Regions from separate parts of the Homo sapiens genome. Here all the other regions are linked to region 2. The links are contacts of gene promoters, found by promoter capture Hi-C in blood cells and fetal thymus (Javierre and others, 2016). All regions are on one chromosome and are shown on one strand. The core of a region is centred on a gene start or on the middle of the fragment in contact, and the rest is flanking DNA. Distances in the headings are between cores, read along the strand shown.

The links. Contacts are between HindIII fragments. The CHiCAGO score rates a contact against its expected background, and 5 or more counts as called.
Region 1: a fragment that was not itself captured here is called in contact with the fragment with the promoter of PYCR2 in region 2 in 3 of 17 cell types (naive CD8 T cells, neutrophils and total CD4 T cells); the score reaches 6.3 in naive CD8 T cells.
Region 3: a contact is called between a fragment that was not itself captured here and the fragment with the promoter of PYCR2 in region 2, in 1 of 17 cell types (naive B cells). The highest score is 6.0, in naive B cells.

The regions. Positions count from the first base shown.
Region 1 is chr1:225,399,824-225,403,217 of GRCh38, reverse strand. It overlaps LBR (lamin B receptor), which reads left to right. Exons shown (of 14, transcript NM_002296.4): 14 at 1-1,716. Among named protein-coding and RNA genes, the nearest start is that of LBR, 27 kb to the left of the region's middle. The HindIII fragment of the contact is 555 bases long and covers 977-1,531 here.
Region 2 is chr1:225,922,432-225,925,753 of GRCh38, reverse strand. It overlaps PYCR2 (pyrroline-5-carboxylate reductase 2), which reads left to right and starts at 1,504. Exons shown (of 7, transcript NM_013328.4): 1 at 1,504-1,710; 2 at 1,983-2,053. The coding sequence starts at 1,644. RefSeq lists silencers at 1,158-1,237, 1,378-1,467, 1,778-1,907 and an enhancer at 958-1,607. The HindIII fragment of the contact is 26,114 bases long and covers 1-3,161 here.
Region 3 is chr1:225,380,148-225,383,430 of GRCh38, reverse strand. It overlaps DNAH14 (dynein axonemal heavy chain 14), which reads right to left. Exons shown (of 86, transcript NM_001367479.1): 80 at 3,109-3,272; 81 at 1,852-2,048. Among named protein-coding and RNA genes, the nearest start is that of LBR, 46 kb to the left of the region's middle. The HindIII fragment of the contact is 938 bases long and covers 1,402-2,339 here.

The DNA.
Region 1 (3,394 bases), core at 5-2,504, 520 kb after region 2:
GTTGCACTGACAGGGTCTGTACTTTTTTTTTTCTTTTTGAGTCAGGACTATGGAGCCGAGTAGTTGATCTTTTAATATAGCCGTGTTTACTTGTATTAACTTACAGTTAACATAGGAAAAATACAAGTAAGGATGTGAGAATTTGCATTTTAATGGGAAATTTTCAACCCTTAATCTGAAAACAGAAGACAGTCTTAATATAAATGTACTGTGAAGAATGCTATTGATGTTTATGGTTTCTGATTACTTTTCAAATTTTGATGTTTTTTTGCCAGTTGGCTTTTCTTAAATGAAAACACTGTTCCATTTAAAGTACATTTATGTTTTATTCAGTAAGAGAATAGAATTTTCATTTGTTTTTCTTTAAATCCTTTACTAATTATATAATTTGAAAGCAAAAAGAAGGGCCTATATTAAATGCTGAAAGTGAAAAGTGATGACATTATTAGCAGACACTGCTTAAAGGAGACCATTTGTAGCAGTTGGCTTAACCTCAACTTCTAAAACTACATTGAAAATGTAAATACATAGCTTAGTTTTTTGTAATATATGGTGACTTCAGATTTTTTTGTACAGTATTTTGAATGTGAGATGATTGTCAGGACTAACTGTCTTTTTAACAAAACATTTTCAGTATTTTAAATAAAATTTTGTAAAGTAATGTGAATTAAAAATTTTGGAACAATTAGAATTCATTCACTATTGTATAGAAGATGCTGTTAAAACATAGGAAGGGTATTTTTCTTGATCCAAAGTTTGTGAATTTGGCTTTGCTACCTCAATTGCAGGTGTTTGTTTGCCTTTATAAACTGTTGCAAATAGAAAAAAAATAGAATAAGTATATATTTTTGGAGTAACATCAATATTTAAACATTTTTACACAGATCGGTGTTTGAAAATTTGCCATTTCAGGCTAATATTTTTATATATTTTTGACTTTTTAAAAGTTCATCAGTGTTTTTGCTACTGTTAAGCTTATGCAGTTTATACTGTATTTTTTATGTATCCTTTATATTTACCAAACCTGACTCCCTGTAAAGGAGTGCTGTCTTAAAAACAACTGAAGGGGTTAAAGTCGTTTCTTTTAGTTTAATAGATGTGCATAAGGTAGCTTTAGCAATTAAATTCTAGTGAAGTTGATATAGTCTCATTTTTAATTGTCCTGTAATGGAACAGTAGCAAATTCACTAAACTTTTGTGTTCAGAGTTAAATTGTTCTCAGTACTTTCAATGTAGGGGAATGTAATAAACATAGTGTGTATGTTTGGGTTTTAATTACACATTTTATATATGAGCCATTTAGATATGCAGTGTTAATTCTATACTGCATTTGAAGTGTATGTAACTTAGCTTATGTTAATGCAGTCATGAAGTTGGTTTGCTCCAGCATCCGGTAGTCTTTAAACATTCTTTTAGTGAAATTGTCATTGTTTTATCAGTGCTAATGTGTGCAAGCAGTTTTTTTATTTTGCTTTTCTCCTGGCATCAGAAAGTGGTGGCGTTTTCTGTACTGGATTGCACCAAGGAAGCTTTTGGGGAGGAAGGAAGGACATTAAATTCTTTCCCTGGTAATGAAAAGAGCCCTTTATCAATACAGTGCTGCAATTTCTGGATATCAGCTACACTTTGTTTTTAAGTTTGTTTTTGACATGTTTATTTGGCAAATTTTATAATGAAGTTTTAAGTTGAAAATAAAATGTAGCAACATTTTGATCACTTTGGAGCCTTTTTTTTTTCCCTTTCTTGCTTGAAACTGAGATTTTTGGGACCAAGACAGGAGCCCTTAGATTCCCACCCCTGCCCAGCCTCCTGTTTTCCTAGGATCATCTGTTTGGGACCCCTGGCCAACTGCTGTTTAAAACTCTCAGAATGTTGGAACTCAAAGGGGTTAGTTGGGAATCCTAACTCCCAGAAAATGGTCATGTGTTTAGTATTTGCTGTTTGAGAAAATACAGAAATGCTAAAACTATTGTAGATCCAGTCATACTTTCAAATGCATTTGTATGAATCACAGAAGCATCTGTGCATTTGAAAGACAGTACGTGTGTGAGAGACACACGAGACACACACATGTACTGTGCCTGCTGACCGTGCTTTAGTGCTTGTTTGGATTTCCAGTTGACTCTAAGCCTGAATTGTGAGATGAGATCAGACAGCTTCACCTCTCAATTCTTCCTGCTGCGACGTTACATTGTGACATTACATTGCAAAATGTGGGTGTGTCAGAATATGCACCAATACCAAGTATACGATTTATATTTTGGTGTTTAGTTTTGCACTGTTTGGAGCAAATGATGAAATATAGGATTTTAACAAAAGATACAAGGTGGAGTGTTTCTAGGTGCAATTTACTTAAATATAGATGGTACAGTTTCCTAGACAATTAAATACATGTTTTGTTCATGGCTGTTAAAAGAGTCTAGTGCTGGGTACAAGTCCCACCTTTTCTACCCCCCTTACTATGGAGAGAGGGGACTGTTGGGATCTTCATTTGTGTACACGTGGGTTATGCTTTCTGCCCATGGACCATTGCCATGATAAAGAGACAGTGAGATGTGGCTTCAAATGCTAGCTGTGCTCCCTCTTAGCAATGTGTGTGTGGGCAATTAATCTCTTTGAGCACTGGTTTCCTCATGTATAAAATCTGGCTGATACGTCCACAGAGTATAGAGGGGCCTGAGGATGATATAGGAATTATTAGTGTTCAACATAGTGCTCAGTTATGTTAGCCATTATTAGTAGAATAACATTCTTCCTATAGGAACATTGAATTTACCAAATTCTCAGGATTTGGCTTTTAGTGGTCAGAGAGGTCTAGTGAAGTCAGAACCATATTGCACTTTTTTTTTTTTTTTTTTTAAAGAGATGGGGTCTTGCTTTGTTGCCCAGGCTGGGGTGCAGTGGCGTGATCATAGCTCAATGCAGCCTCAACCTCCTGGGCTCAAGCCATCCTCCTACCTCAGACTCTGAGTAGCTGGGACTAAAGGTGCCTCATCATGCCTGGCTAATTTTTTAAACAATTTTTTGTAAAGACAGGGTCTCATTATGTTGTCAAGGCTGGTCTTGAATTCCTGGCCTCAAGTGATCCTCTTGCCTTGGCCTCCCCAAGTGCCGGGATTACAGACATGAGCCACTGTACCCAGCCAGACCGCAATTTTTTTTCAAGACAGAGTCTTGCTCTGTCACCTAGGCTAGAGTGCAGTGGCACAGTCTCAGCTGACAGCAACCTCTGCCTCCCAGGCTCAAGTGATTCTCATGCCTCAGCCTCCTGAGCTGGGATTACAGACCTGCGCCACCACGCCCAGCCAATTTGTGTATTTTTAGTAGAGATGGGTTTCGTCGTGTTGTCTAGGCTGGTTTCGAAGTCCTGACCTCAGGTGATCCGCCCGCCTTG
Region 2 (3,322 bases), core at 255-2,754:
ATCACCTCAGGTCGGGAGTTCAAGATCAGCCTGACCAACATGGAGAAACCCTGTCTCTACTAAAAATACAAAAAATTAGCCGGGCGTGGTGGCGCATGCCTGTAATCCCAGCTACTCAGGAGGCTGAAGCAGGAGAATCGCTTGAACCCGGGAGGTGGAGGTTGCAGTGAGCCGAGATCGTGCCATTGCACTCCAGCCTGGGCAACAAGAGCGAAACTCTGTCTCAATAAATAAATAAATAAATAAATAAATAAAACATAGCATTATTTTGCTTAATAGTAAATATTATATTTGGTCCTCACTTTAAAGGGTGCACAAACTGAGGGCCTGGGGACTTGCTCAGGGAAGTTCACAGAAAGCAGCCCCTTGCCTGGGAGTGGGGGTGTGCATTACACGGAAAGGACTAGAAAAGCTAGCAGAGAGACCATGGGAACTAAGGGTCCTCAGCTCTTCTGAGTCCTCTAGGAACGCCACCTTCTTCCTCTCTACTTCTGTCATTTGTTCCCTGCGGCCCCTTATATTTACTACTGATAGAAAAGGAAACATCACATTGGTGGAGCTTTTAAAAGCAAGAGACAGGTCGGGCGCGGTGGCTCACGCTTATAATCCCAGCACTTTGGGAGGCCGAGGCGGGCGGATAACCTGATGTCAGGAGTTGAAGACCAGCCTGAACAACATGGTGAAACCCCGTCTCTACTAAAAATACAAAAATTATCCGGTCGTGGTAGCGGGCGCCTGTAATCCCAGCTACTGGGGAGGCTGAGGCAGGAGAATCGCTTGAACCCGGGAGGCGGAGATTGCAGTGAGCCGAGATCGTGCCACTGCACTCCATCCTGGGCAACAAGAGTGAAACTCCGTCTCAAAAAAAAAAAGGCAAGTGACAGCAAGGGGCTGGGGGGTGCGGGATCGCGGAAGAGTCGGAGACTCGAACTTGTCCTTCTTGTATCTAGTTTGGACAAATTCGCGAGAAACACTCAAGTTCAAGTGAATAAGCCGCGGCTGACCACCCTGGTGCCGCCTCGCCGCCACCTGGTCTGAACCTCGCCGCCACCTGGTCTGAACCTACGCCAGGAGGGCCTCGTTCATCCCCGCAAATCGGCAACCTGGAGAATTCCTGTGGGCCTTGAGGGGCATCTGATGGCCAGCGCCAGAAATAATATTAGCCAGGCCTGGGCCAGGCCTCAGCCCTGAGCCCGAGGTGGCTTAGGGACGGCGACCTCAGCCTTGGGGTGGGGGGGGGGGGTGGGGGCGGCCGGGCGTCCTGGGCCGGCGGGCGCCTGGAGCTCACGCCAAGCTGCCACAGGGGCTTCCGGGACTCCAGCCCGGAGTTCCGCCCTCCAGTCGCGAGCGGAGGAGGCGGGCACGCGGCCTGGCTCGGGCCGCGGATTGGCCTGCCCCGAGATCCTGGCCACTGATTGGTCGCCCGGACGGGGCGGGGCCACGTGGCCTAAGGCGCCATCAGCCGCCCGGGAGATATCCGCCGGGGGAGAATAGGGTTGCACCATCCCAGAAGCTGCTGTTAGCTCGCCGGTCCTCGGCACGCCGCCCGTTCGCCCCTGCGCTGTCCGCCCTTCCCCTAGCGTTACTTCCGGTCCCTCGCTGAGGGGGTTCGTGCGGCTCCCAGGAGGCGTGAACCGCGGACCATGAGCGTGGGCTTCATCGGGGCCGGCCAGCTGGCCTATGCTCTGGCGCGGGGCTTCACGGCCGCAGGCAAGCGCGTGGAGGCGGGAGGCGGCTTCGCGGGCGGTCCCGAGGCCCGAGGGGGCCTCCGTCCCACCAGCATGAGCGAATGAAAGGGGAGTTTGCGTCCGGTGGGGTAGATGAGACTCTGGTTGAGCAGCAAGTGCGTCTTCTGTCCTCGTAGAGGGTTGAGGGGGAGAGGGAGACTGGCACTGTTAGGACGGCTCTGGGTTTTAGAGCCAGGGAAAGCGTGGTAACGGGCTGGGCCGCGACCCCTAGTTGAAAAGCTCTGTCTTCTGCAGGCATCCTGTCGGCTCACAAGATAATAGCCAGCTCCCCAGAAATGAACCTGCCCACGGTGTCCGCGCTCAGGGTAGGTGGAGCCGGGCGGAGTGGGAAGCGGGTGGAGGCCCAGGAAAAGGATGACCTGAGATGAAGTGAGTCTGGCCGGCCCCTGCGCCCAAGTGCTGGTCTTTGGCCGGCGGTGACCTTTACTCCAGGAACGTGACAATCTTTCCACCTTCTCTTGGGCAGCTCAATGTGGTGGGAACACCCAGGGAGACATAACTGGGGGTCAGATCCAGACACTGGAGTGGTAGAGGATTAACTGAGGTGATTATGTGATGAAAGCACCTGGCACATAGTAGGTACCTAATAAATACTCATTTTTTAAATTTTTTTTCAGACAGGGTCTTACTCTGTCGCCCAAGCTGGAGTGCAGTGGCGCGATCTCAGCTCACTGTAACCTCCGCCTCCCACCTCAGCCTCCCACCTCAGCCTCCCGAGTAGCTGGAATTACAGGCATCCACCACGCGCAGCTAATTTTTGTATTTTTGGTAGAGAATACTGTTGGCCAGGCTGGTCTCGAACTCCTGGCCTCAAGTGATCTGCCCGCCTTGGCCTCCCAAAGTGCTGGGATTACAGGGGTGAGCCACTGCGCTCAGCCATTTTTCTTAATAGACGAGTTGTATGACCTTAAAGTACTCAGCCACTTTGAGGCTATTTCCTCATTTACAACAGTGGCCACTTTGCTGTTATTCTGAGTCGTGAATGAGCATATTGGGAAGAATCTGGTGAGTTAGTTGTTCTGTTCTCCAAAAACATATTCCAAGTCTTCACCCAAAACCTGTGCTCTGTGGGAGAGGATGGCTGATGAGGCAGGTGACAGGCAGTGTCTGTGCCTAGGGTGGGCTGATGTCCCTAGCACTGGAGGGTCCTGCTTCTCAGTTTGGAGTCATAGAGGGATGGATGGCTTCCAGCCTAGCCCTGGACCACATGGAGACTGTGCGGTCCCCACGAACAAGCGGCCAGGGTTAGGATAGGGCCTGACTCAGCTGTGCTTTTAACGACCAGGTATTAGCATTTCCCTTTGCCCTGCCACTTTCACCATAGGGCCTTCTTACCTGGCAGAGGAGTGCCTTAGATACCAGAAGATTGGCAGGGAAGAAGGGCAGCCACTTCCTGGTTACCATGGAGAAGCTTGTCATGCTCCAAGCCTGTGCTTACTTGTCCAGTAGCAACAATGGGAAACTGTATTATTTGGGGTAGGGGTAGAACCCTGAGGGCATAAAGCTAAGAATTCCAGGCTGCATCTGGCAGAATCGGTTTGGCAGGGGTTCAGCTGCTCCCTGGGAGGCCTTGG
Region 3 (3,283 bases), core at 621-3,120, 540 kb after region 2:
GTAATAAGGCCTCTCTGCTTTTTAGTTTCCATATCTGTAAAATAAGGTCATTGGAGTGGGGGTTCCCTAAGATCCTTTCGAGCTCTGAAGTCCTGTGATTCGGATGTGTCTCCACATCTCAATTTTTCATCACAGCTTGTATTCAATTTTAAGGAATTATAATTGTTATTATTTCCTCTCGTCTGTCTTCATGTTTTCTACCTAGGTTTTAAAAATAACTTCATTGAGATATAACTCATATGCCATACAACTTACTTATTTAAAGTGTACAAATGAATGGTTTTTCGTATAATCACTGAGTTGTGCAACTACCACTGTAGTCAATTGTAGAACGTTTTCATGAGTCCAAAAGAAAACCCTCTCAGCATCCATTCTCCAGTTCTCTGTCACCCACAAACTGAGGCAACCAATAATCTATTTTCTGTCACTATTCTGGACATTTCTTGTAAATGGAATCATACAATATATGGTCTTTTGTGATGGCCTTCCTACACTTAGCACAGAAGAACTACTGTTTTCAAGGTTTATCCATGTGATAGCCTGTATCAGTACTTCATTCATTTTGCTGGCTGAATAATATTTCATTACAGGGACATACCATATTTTATCCATTCATCAGTCAATGGACATTTGAGTTGTTTTCACCTTTTGGGTATTACAAATAATGCTGCCATGAACATTCATGTGCAAGTTTTTGGGTGGACTTTTTTTTTTTTTGAGACAGAGTGTCCCTCTGTTGCCCAGGCTGGAGTGCAATGGCATGATCTCAGTTCACTGCAACCTCTGCCTTCTGGGTTCAAGCAATTCTCCTCCCTTAGCCTCACAAGTAGCTGGGATTTCAGGTACCCACCACCATGCCTGGCCATTTTATTATTATTATTATTTTTAGTAGAGACGGGGTTTCACCATGTTTGCCAGGCTGGTCTCAAACTCCTAACCTCAGGTGATCCGCCACCTTGGCCTCCAAAAGTGCTGAGATTACAAGCATGAGGCCCTGTGCCCGGCCTGGATTTATGCTTTAATTTCTGTTGGATATATTCCTAGGAGTGAAATTGCTGGGTCAAATGGTAAATCTGTTTAACTTTTTGAGGAACTACTGGACTATTTCCAAAGTAGCTGCACCATTTTTCATTCCCATGAGTGGTGCATTTGGGTTCCAATTTCTCCCAATGCTTGTTTTTATGTATTTTTAATTCTTTCCATCTTAGTAGGTGTGAAGTTGTATCTCATTGTGGTTTTGATTTGCATTTCCCTCAAAGCAAATGCTGTTGAACATCTTTTCACATGTCTACACAGGTTTTCAATCTGGTATAGGATTCAGGGTTCTGGAAAAGGCCAGTGCTAATCCTAAGGGGAGAAGTTCATTTCTGGAGAAATAGTGTTTGTGTCCAACATCAAGCTTGTTAATTTCCTACTCTGTGCTGCCAGATCTTCCATGGCTTATTTTATTCCTGGTCTAATACATTTTGTGTTTTTACAATTTGGTCTTCTGTTTAAGACCATGACCCAGTAATTTCTTCATCATCTTGTTTAGCTTTGTTTTTATTTTAAAAGCAATTAAACTCAACACTTATAGTAATACCAAGAGTGCACCTACTTTGACATGAACTGCCATGATACATAGTTCACATACACAGATAGTGAGAACTAAGTGATGGTGCTGCCTGGCTAACAGTGACTGTTAAGAGGCATTCCAACTTCAGAGATGTGAAAATATGAAAAAGTACGTCAGCATCTTTTAAGAGTTACATATTTCATCACACAGATGCACCATTTACCTTCACCATTCCCTTGAACTTGGACATTTATTTCAAGCAAGCAAGAAAATAGGAAATAATAATAATTGCTTACCTGCCACAATGTAGGCACTCTCATATTAAGAAAAGAGTTAAATATTTCCTCCAATTCTTGGGTGAGGATGATCTCTCCTTTTATAGCAAGCTGAAGATCTTTTAAGGATTTATGTATGACAAATAATAACTTATCAAATCGTTTAATTTCTTGCTTCAAAAAGGTTAGCAAGACACAATGGATAAGGGGGTCGTGATCTGGATTTTAAAAAGAAATAAAATTTTGATATTTTACAGATTAAAAAGAGGCTTTACATGGAGGGACTTAGGCTTTGAAAGTTAAGGGAATTTTGTGTGTCTTGACCAGGGGTTGATAAACATTTTCTGTAGAAGGTCAGATAGCAAACATTTTAGGGTATGGGGACCACACCACCTCTGTGAAAGCTACTCAGCTCTCCCCTTGTAGTGTGGGTGCGGCCACACTATCTACTATGTGTGGATGCATAGACAATATGTCATGAGTAAGTGTGGCTGTGTTCCAGTAAAGCTTTACTTATGGCACTCAAATTGGAGTTTCATATAACATTTATGTGTCACAAACTATATTCCTTCTTTTGATTTTTTTTAACCATTAAAAAATGCAAAAGCCATTTTAGTTCACAGGCTGTACAAAAACAAATGGTGGGCTGGATTTGGCCTGCGAGCCCTAATTTGCTGACCTTTGATTGAGACTCAACAATGACACTGTTTTGATAAACTATTGCTCAATATTTGGTTCCCAAATAAACTTCTGCAAAGGGATAAAATATGGGTATTAAAATTTAACTGGGAAAATTATCATAGTCTAGCAATTTAGCCACTTAGAGCTGGGTTTGGAGTCATCTCTGGGCAATCAGGCTTCCTCTGTCTTCCTGGGCCTGCCCTGATTCCCCTTAGCTTCTTGGAGTCAAGTGGTCTTTCAGCAGAAGGTCCATCTAAACTTCCGCTGTTCCAGAAGGCAGAGAGGCAGAGAGAACAGGCACCTAGAACTCTTGACAATCTCCAAAGCAGAGTTGCTGCTTTCTAGTTTGCTACACTTGTTATTTCTTCACTTTTGATTTCAGTGCCACACGCTACCCACCCCCAAACTAAAGCGTGATTTTCTTCTGTGCTCTCTGTCTTTCAACTTGGAGAGAGGAGGCAGAGACTGAGTTTTCCATCTTATCTCAGTATTTTCACTTCTACAGAATTTTTGTCTTATCTTTACCTTACTCCTGACACCAGAGTCCTTTCTTGAGGAGAGTGAGGTAAGGGGAAAAAGCTCCTGTCCCATGCTCACCTTTGAGATTTTTAGAAAGAGACTCCCAAATGGAGCTTGACATCATGCTCTTCAATGTGCTTGGAGTTCCAACAGCAATTTCTTCTTTCTCCACTGTCAGTGGCAGCCGCTTTAGCAAGTCGGATAGAATTTCCATCACCAGTTCATCCTTACTCTGCTCAGGTCTGCAAAAAAA